Regions from separate parts of the Homo sapiens genome. Here region 1 is linked to region 2. The links are contacts of gene promoters, found by promoter capture Hi-C in blood cells and fetal thymus (Javierre and others, 2016). All regions are on one chromosome and are shown on one strand. Each heading gives the region's core, a stretch centred on a gene start or on the middle of the fragment in contact. The rest is flanking DNA. Distances are from core to core; before and after follow the strand shown.

Evidence for each region. Contacts are between HindIII fragments. The CHiCAGO score rates a contact against its expected background, and 5 or more counts as called.
Region 1: a contact is called between a fragment that was not itself captured here and the fragment with the promoter of KEL in region 2, in 4 of 17 cell types (erythroblasts, M0 macrophages, megakaryocytes and 1 more). The highest score is 7.5, in erythroblasts.

Annotation. Positions count from the first base shown.
Region 1 is chr7:142,857,240-142,861,373 of GRCh38, forward strand. It overlaps EPHB6 (EPH receptor B6), which reads left to right. Exons shown (of 20, transcript NM_004445.6): 2 at 3,813-3,947. Among named protein-coding and RNA genes, the nearest start is that of EPHB6, 4.2 kb to the left of the region's middle. The HindIII fragment of the contact is 701 bases long and covers 2,245-2,945 here.
Region 2 is chr7:142,960,819-142,964,652 of GRCh38, forward strand. It overlaps KEL (Kell metallo-endopeptidase (Kell blood group)), which reads right to left and starts at 1,545. Exons shown (of 19, transcript NM_000420.3): 1 at 1,386-1,545; 2 at 977-1,054; 3 at 542-683; 4 at 110-286. The coding sequence starts at 1,388. RefSeq lists a silencer at 1,309-1,504 and a cis regulatory region at 3,627-3,834. The HindIII fragment of the contact is 12,002 bases long and covers 1-3,834 here.

The DNA.
Region 1 (4,134 bases), core at 1,345-3,844, 100 kb before region 2:
TCCAGGGACACAGGACTGTCCTCTGCTAGGTAATCTACAAATTGGCTTCTCCAGCCAAGGAAGCAGGGACTAGAAGAGCCGGAGGACAGCCACCTCCTCACTGTCTGTCCTGGATGCCTCCATGAAGCCTGATGATGGGATCCTTCTCAAGGCAGGAGGCCAGAGCACGAAGAGATCTCCAAGGTGGAGATTAAAGGATAGAGGCTTTGGCATTAAACTGAGCAAGGATTATACTGGAATTTCCTGGGCGTTTAACAGCTGTGGAACAGGATAGGGGACAGGGCCTGTGGTACTGACCCCTCCCACACTGACCTGTGTGGCTCACAGGTGTAAGGACCAGCCCAGCAACCACACCAGACATAAAACCTCGAACCGCTTTGCCCTTGGGACTGTTCTGTCCCTGCTGGACTCTGCAGCCTGCTTTGTCTCACTAAATTGTTCCTGTCTGGGCTCGGTTTGGGGCCATGCCCTTTACTATGTGTTCCCAGTGGACAGTCCCCTGGGTTCCCCTCTGTCCCTTCATAGCCTCATCCCTTTGCTTGACATCGTCGAAGAGAAGCATGCATGATGTCAGCAGCGGGACAGTTGGAACTTCTTGGGAGACAAGCTTAAAGACTAGCCAGAGATAACAATTATTTTGGTTTTCTTGTTGGCATTACTTCACTCATTCATTCTCAGCTCCTACTGTATTTCCACCTCTACCTTCTTCTTATAGATGAACATTTCTTGATATTTTGAAACATAGAAGGAAAATGGCATGGGGAGTGAATAAAATGTAAACGTATGCTTATTTGTCTAGGTTTTACAAATATTTTTCTTTTTTGTTTAGATTTTAATTATGAGATTTTACGTTAATTATAAAAATAAGGTATGCTTACTGTAACAAGAAAAATAATTGAATTATGTGTAAGACAAAATTAATGCCCCCACCTACAATCCTTCATTTCTACCTCCCACAGTAACCCATTTTAATGGCCTAATATGTCTTCTGCCTACCTTCCTCCAAGCTTATTTGGCTTACATTATTTAATCTTTAAAAATTCACTTTGTGGATTGAGGTGCATAAACTATATTAAGTAAGCTTGATTTGCTCATGAAAATATCATATTTAGCATTTAATTGGAGCACGATTAATTTTTTAAATTCTTACCAATTTACCAATTTAATTTACTTTTAAGTCATTCTTTTTTTTTTTTTTTTTTTTTTTTTTTTTTGAGACAGCATCTTGCTCTGTCGCCGAGGCTGGAGTGCAGTGGCACGATCTCGGCTCACTGCAAGCTCTGCCTCCCGGGTTCACGCCATTCTCCTGCCTCAGCCTCCCCAGCAGCTGGGACTACAGGCACACGCCACCACGCCCAGCTAATTTTTTTTTTTTTTTTTGTATTTTTAGTAGAAACGGGGTTTCACCGTGTTAGCCAGGACGGTCTCGATCTCCTGATCTTGTGATCCGCCCACCTTGGCCTCCCAAAGTGAAATATTTCATTTTTATAGCAACATAACTCGTAAGCTATGCTTTGTAACCTATGATTCTACAAATCTTTACTTTTTGCCAGTTTCTGAAAACAAAACACAACCTTGATACCTAAGAAACAGTCTTATTTTTGTAAACCAAAGAGATGTAGCAGGCTTGTGGATCTATTGTCTCTACTGTATCAAAAAGATATTAAGTGATATATCTATAAAAGAAGCTGAGAACATATTATAAAGTCATAGACTGCAATTTTTGTTACCTAAAACTTTGTCTAATCCGTCTCGTTTTCTCCACCATTGTTTTATGTTCACATTTCTGCTGCTTCTGGTTTTATATTTTTAAAACCTTATACACATCTGAAATGTGAATATTTTTCTAAAGGAGATAAGTTCTTTTGCACATTCTTGTGTTAGAGAATTTCTAAATACTGACCAGTTCCTTTTGTAAGTCAGAGGAGAGAGGACTCTCAAGCAGGCTGTGAGAGAGGAGCAAGGGGCCTGGCTTTGCAGAGGCTGCTTCCCATCTCTGTGGCAGGAGAAATGTACTGGCCTGTCCCTGGGATGCTCTCCTGGACCAAATGCAGAAGATGCTCCATGCCCACAACCATTGAAGACACCTTTGAAAAATCAAGTTCTGAGTCCTGCTTACTTAGCATTCCAGGCATGTGGAGCAGCCGTGTTCTTGTCACTTATGTTTCTGCCTTTGAAATTGGCTTCAAAAGAATCTGCAGTGGTATGAATTTGCTGACAGCAATTTATTCCATATCTTAATAAAGCTTCCTTTTTCTTTATTTGGATTCCTGCAACAGGGGTACACCCATATTCTTTTTATATATTAAAATTAAAAGTCTTGAATTTATCTGGTTTGTTTGATAAGTAAGAACTCACCTAACTTCCTAGTCTGACTCAGCAACAATTTTTTTTTTCTGAAAAAATGTATTTATAACCTTCAGTCATCTGGATCTGAATCTAAAAGAGGTCCTCATCAAACATTAGAAGTATCCTTCTGGGTACTTTAAGATCCTCAACCATTTCTTTTTAATGAATATCTTTGTTCTTAGTAAAATTTCAAAAAATTGCTGAAGTGGTCATCCACAGGCAGTGTCTCCATTTTCTTCTTTTCTTTATGCTGTTTCTTGATGGCAGAAGCTGAGTGGCCTTAACATCCATGTTTCATAATTGCTTTTGCTCTTTTCTGGATCTTCTGGAGGGAGGCCAGCTTCGTGTTGTCATTACGAGGCATGCTAAGGCTATGCAAGCACGCCCTATTGCAACCACAAGTGACTGTGTTCCTTGTAGTTCGGGTCATCAAAGCAAATATCTTGCTATTCATCTTCCAGAGTGTTCCATATTGGACAGCTGATACTATCTGCAGCGCATCTTTTCTATCTTGCTTGGCTGTCTTTCAAAATAATTCATTGAAATATTTCCAAAATATTTATTGTTCCTTCTTCATGATTATTTGCCTAGTTGTAAGCTTGAGAAGACACAGGGCTTACTGTTTCTTCTTTGTACAGATTACAGAATCCATCCATGTTCTGAGTGAAAGAAAGAGACTATTTTAAAGAATAACTTCTAGGCAAATGGTAAAATAGCCTTCATTGTTTAAAAACCTGCTGCTGGCATTTTCTTTCCCTGATAACAGTATTTCTAAGGACTCCGTGACTCTGGTTTGCTTCAGTGTGTCAAGCACGTCTCCAAATTAAGCCATTGAGAGTTTGGAGGGGATGCACTTACAACATGAATTACTTTAGGATATTTATTAAACAGCCACTGGTGACGGTGCCAAGGTTACAGAATTTAATAGCTATGCCTGCTTTTTACTTCATGATCTCCCCGTTCCTCTCCAAAGCATTTATTTCATCTGTGAAGGATCCTAGTAACATTTCAGACATTTTTGCAAAGAACATTACTTAAGAGCAATTTGCCATATGGAAATGCTCCTTACTTGTCTCCATAGGCTGTAAATTGAACTCTCTATTTCACAAATAGGGTTAAAGATGTATAAAAGGTGAGTTTCAGGGGCTAGTTGGCAGGTGCCCACTCTACATCAGCCCACGCGTATGTAGAAATGGTGTATTTCCATGATAACTTCATGGACAGCACAGCCCGCAGTGCCAGAAAAAAATTAGTAGGAATCAAATTATGATTTTCATATTTGTTGCAATTAAAGTTTCATAGTTTGATTTTTGTTTTATGATAGCTTTCAACAATCCCAAGGCCATATATATCCAGGAAAAACAAATCACAACTTCTCTTCTAATTGGCTTTTTTTTTGTTTTCCTCTCAGTTCTATGTCTTTTGAGCAATCTGGGCAACATGTCTCTTTTTTTTCTTCACAGAAATAAAGGGATTATAGTCCACCCAATTCACAGACTTCTGAGACTCAGACACGAGGAGAGATAGAGAACCGCCAATCTCTAAATCAACAAGCAAAGGAGGTGCCAAGCCTGTTTGTCTTCATTGTGACACTGGAGGTAGCTATTCCTTCTGTTCATTTGCTCGTGAGCTTAGTGGTGTACCTTCTGAAGGCACAGGAAGGTTTTATATAAGAGGTAGCTTACTACATAGTTCTGAGAAGCCATTATGAGGATATGAACACTGTTTTGATTAACTTTACTAAACAGTTATTATCCTATAGTTTTAAAGAAAATTTTAATCAAT
Region 2 (3,834 bases), core at 295-2,794:
TGGTGCAAATCAGTTGTTCCACAACTACACAGGGTTTGGAGCAGTCATGGTCATTTTAGGCACAGAGTCACCCACTTGCACAGAGCATCTTCCACCCTGCTTTCCTCACCCAGTATTCTCCGAAGTCGGTTTTTGTTCTTTGTGGCAAGCTCCTGAAAAGAATTATTGGTCTCTTTGGCCCTTCCACAGGCAAAGCTGAAGAAGTCGGTGCAGGGGGCCACACTTGTGTTCCCAGAGGCCAGGTAATGATCCCGGAGATCCAAACACACAGATGTCTCACAGGGGCCTGTGGGGAAAAGCTCAGAGCTGGGAAAGAAGAGGCAAAAAGACAAGGGCTCCCCCAAGGGGCTAGGCAAAGAACATCAGGTGAGTAACTAAGTGGGGAGCTGATGAAAAAGAAATGGTTAGGATGCAGGGAGGAAGAAGAACCATGGGGACCCCAAGGGTCAGGGTGGGCAGAAGCCCCAGGAGCAGGGACTGGGCCTGGGCCCCAGGGCTGGGGGAGGGCTGACTAGGTTAGGGGGTCTGGGATCTTGCTTACGAGGGCCACAGTTCTGGAAGTTGTAGAACAAAAGCACAGAAAAACAAAGGAGCAGGCCCAAAATCAGGATAGCTGTCAGCACCCGCCTGGCCACTGCCCATGGCCTGCTCCCTTCCACGGGCAGCCTCTCTTCTGGAGTGCTCTGTGGGAGGAACCAAGAGGTGAAAGATACAAGATGGGGGTTGAGAGACAGGGATGGGAAGAAGAGGAGAGAGAATGAATCTGTTGGTGCTACAGTCCCTTTATACAGAAATAATTATCCCAATTCTTCCTAAACCCAGCCCTACTTTAACTCCTGGGAGATGAGAAAACAAGGAATGTCAACTGTTTTGGGTGAGGATGAAGCAGACAGTTAGTAGATGAGTGTTTGTGGGATTTTAGAGCCGAGAGTGACAACATCAGTGTATTCCAGACCCAGGAGAGGAGGCCACTTACCTCTTGGCTCCAGAGAGTTCCCATTCCACCTGCCTGGCTGCGTTCCCTCGGCTCTTCCTCACTTTGGTCCCCACCTTCCTGAAGTGAGTGGAGGGAGAAGGAGGAGAGAGAAGCTGGTTCAGGAAATGGTGCATTGAAGAGAGTTTTATCAGGCCATTTTGATACCCTCGCTGCCTGCCCTGCCCCCACACACATATTTTTATCTCGGAGCAGTGTTCCCAGATGGGCTTCAGAACGAACCTGTCCCCTGAATGTGCCATTTCTCGATCCCTCTCCCATTACCTCCCTCTCTCCCCACCTTTCTACTCTGTAAGCCTTACATTCCCTCCCCTCCAGTGGGGGCAGGACTTTTGCACACAGCCACCCTCACCCCTCCCCGCTAAGCCTCTGACTCCAAAAGGGGACTTACCATCTGTCTATCTTCTGTGGCTCCAGAATCCTTCCTGGTTCCACTCTAGGAGCTGATTCGGAGGACTGGGGTCCAGGAAACACCCCCCGCCCCAGTTCCTTGATCCTGGAGAAGGGGCACTTCTGCTGCTCTTTCGCCTTGTCCCCAGACACACAGGACTGGCCTCTGGGTGGAGCCTGCTTATCAGTGGGGGGCACCCAGGCTTCTCCTCCCCCTTTATCTCAGCTTCTCAGGGGAGAAGAGGGAGGGAGTCTTCACTCCCCAAGCAATCTTGCCCTTGGTCTGCTCCTTTTGTCTTGCACTGTGACTCTGCCCATGAAGTTCCTTTATTTCTAAAATATTCTTCCTTCTCTCATTTCTTCTGTATTAAAAAAAATATGAGGCACAGTAAAATTTTAAAGAGTTTATTTAAGTAAGAAGCAATTCATGAATTGGGGAGCACCAGACCGACAAAGGTTTAGTGTTGCGATGACAAAATGTCAGAGGCAAGCATTTATTGGGAAGTTATAGAAGCAAAATGAAACATTATTTGCTTAGTTTGCAGTTACATAATTGCATTTTTTAGGTAACTTTTTGGAAAGTCCCTAGTCACATAATCATATGTTAGTTGGCTGCTTATCATTGGCTGGGGTTAAGTTTTATTTGTTGTAAGCATTTATCAGAAATTGACCCAAGTTAAGTTTAATTTATGTTTGTAGTTTTAGCAAGAATATGGCTATTTTTAAGGTCTTTGGCTTTGTTTGCCTGGGAATTTTTCAGGCCCAGTCTCCATTTTAATTTTGTTTTCACACCTCTCTGATTGGCTTTTCTGGGATTCATCAATTCCCAGGTCAAATGCCACCTTTCCCAGGAGGCCTCCCAGCTCCATGCCCATTCACACTGTTCCCAAGCATGCTTAATTGTTTCTCTCGGTGTTTCATAGCTCTGCTGGCTGCTGGCAAAGTCATGCATTCAAAAGATCACCCAGCTAGGAGACCCTAATCTGCTAATTATTAGCTCTGTGACAATAAACAAGCCACTTAAACTCTGAGGCAGGTAAGCAAGTTTTGTCATCTGGAAAATGAGGGTAATACTTGCCTATGCCTACCTCATAGGATCTCATGCCTTCTACAAAAGAATAAGGCTTTACTGAGCCCCTCTTTCTTTCATTCTGCTTTCTGTTACACTGATAGCTTGCCTCTTCATCTCCTTAGTGATTGAAAACTATGTCATAGCATGTACAGTGTCTGGTTTTCATTCCTGCCCACCCAAGATGCTTTCTAAATGTTAATAGAAATGAATTGCATTCCAAGCCAGAAATCCTCTTTCTCACATCATATTAAGCCCTTACCTGTGGTCTGAGAGAGGCAAGCACATTTCTGGGGGAAGGTGTTTCAACTCTGTCCTTGTTTCCTCATCCCAGGAAAAAAATAATGTAATTTATTAGGTTAGTCTTGCAAATGATCCCCTGGCGATATTTCCAGATTCCATCAGCACTGTGCTAGGGCCATGGTGCACTTGCCAGGATGAGGGTGGGTGTGGAGAAGTGGAGTAAAGCCATTGTGCCCCCTGGGGCCAGCTGGTCGGGTATCATGAAAGTCATAAAGAAAAGTCAGAACTTCATACATTAGAAAAGAAAGCATTGGGAAAAATAAGGCTTTTGAGGAAAGGTGTGGCAAGATACAATAATATCTAAGAAACGCCGGTGTGGTATTGGGGATCTGGACTGATTGGATAAAAGACAAGAAACAGAGTGGTTAGTTTGGTGTTGCAGGAGTGATGAAGGGAGGGCCCGGCCCAAGGGGATGGCAGAGGGGAGGGAAGTGCGTAGAAAGAAAAATTGTATGGAATAAAGTCATGGCAATGGATTGAATGGAGGAGGGGTTTATGATAGAGCCACAGAGGAGCTCCAAGTTGCATTTCTGCATGACTAGGGGAATAGTGATGCCAGCGAACAATGGAATTTTGATTAAGGGGGGAGTAGGAATCAGAGTGAGGGGAAAAAGCTGACTCAGGATTCTAGAGGTGTTTGGTCTGTGTGGGTACACCCTGATGGTGCCTCCTCTTCAAACTTCCCTTCCACAGAAAGTCCAATACTCTCCCCATGGGCTTTTAGCTTCCTTCACACATATTCCCTTCCTCACTCCTTTTCTATCAATCAAAGCCCCTGAGCTGATGTTTCCCTAGGAAGATGATAATGGAGACCACTTAGATTTGATAAGAGAAAGTTGAAGATGGAGTGTGCTCTGTGACATTTGCCTATGGACAGCCACCACAGCCTGGACTTAGGTTCTCTCCCTGTCAGAGAAGCTGAGCCAGCCACAGGGATAGGGCAGCACAGCTGCCAGGTCCACCATTCCTACTCAGCCTCCTCCTGAAGGCCAAGCAACCTCCATCCTGGGAGCTGTCTCAGGAGCAGGACTTCTTCTTATCACCCATATCCTACTCCATGGTGAGTCATCACCAGCAC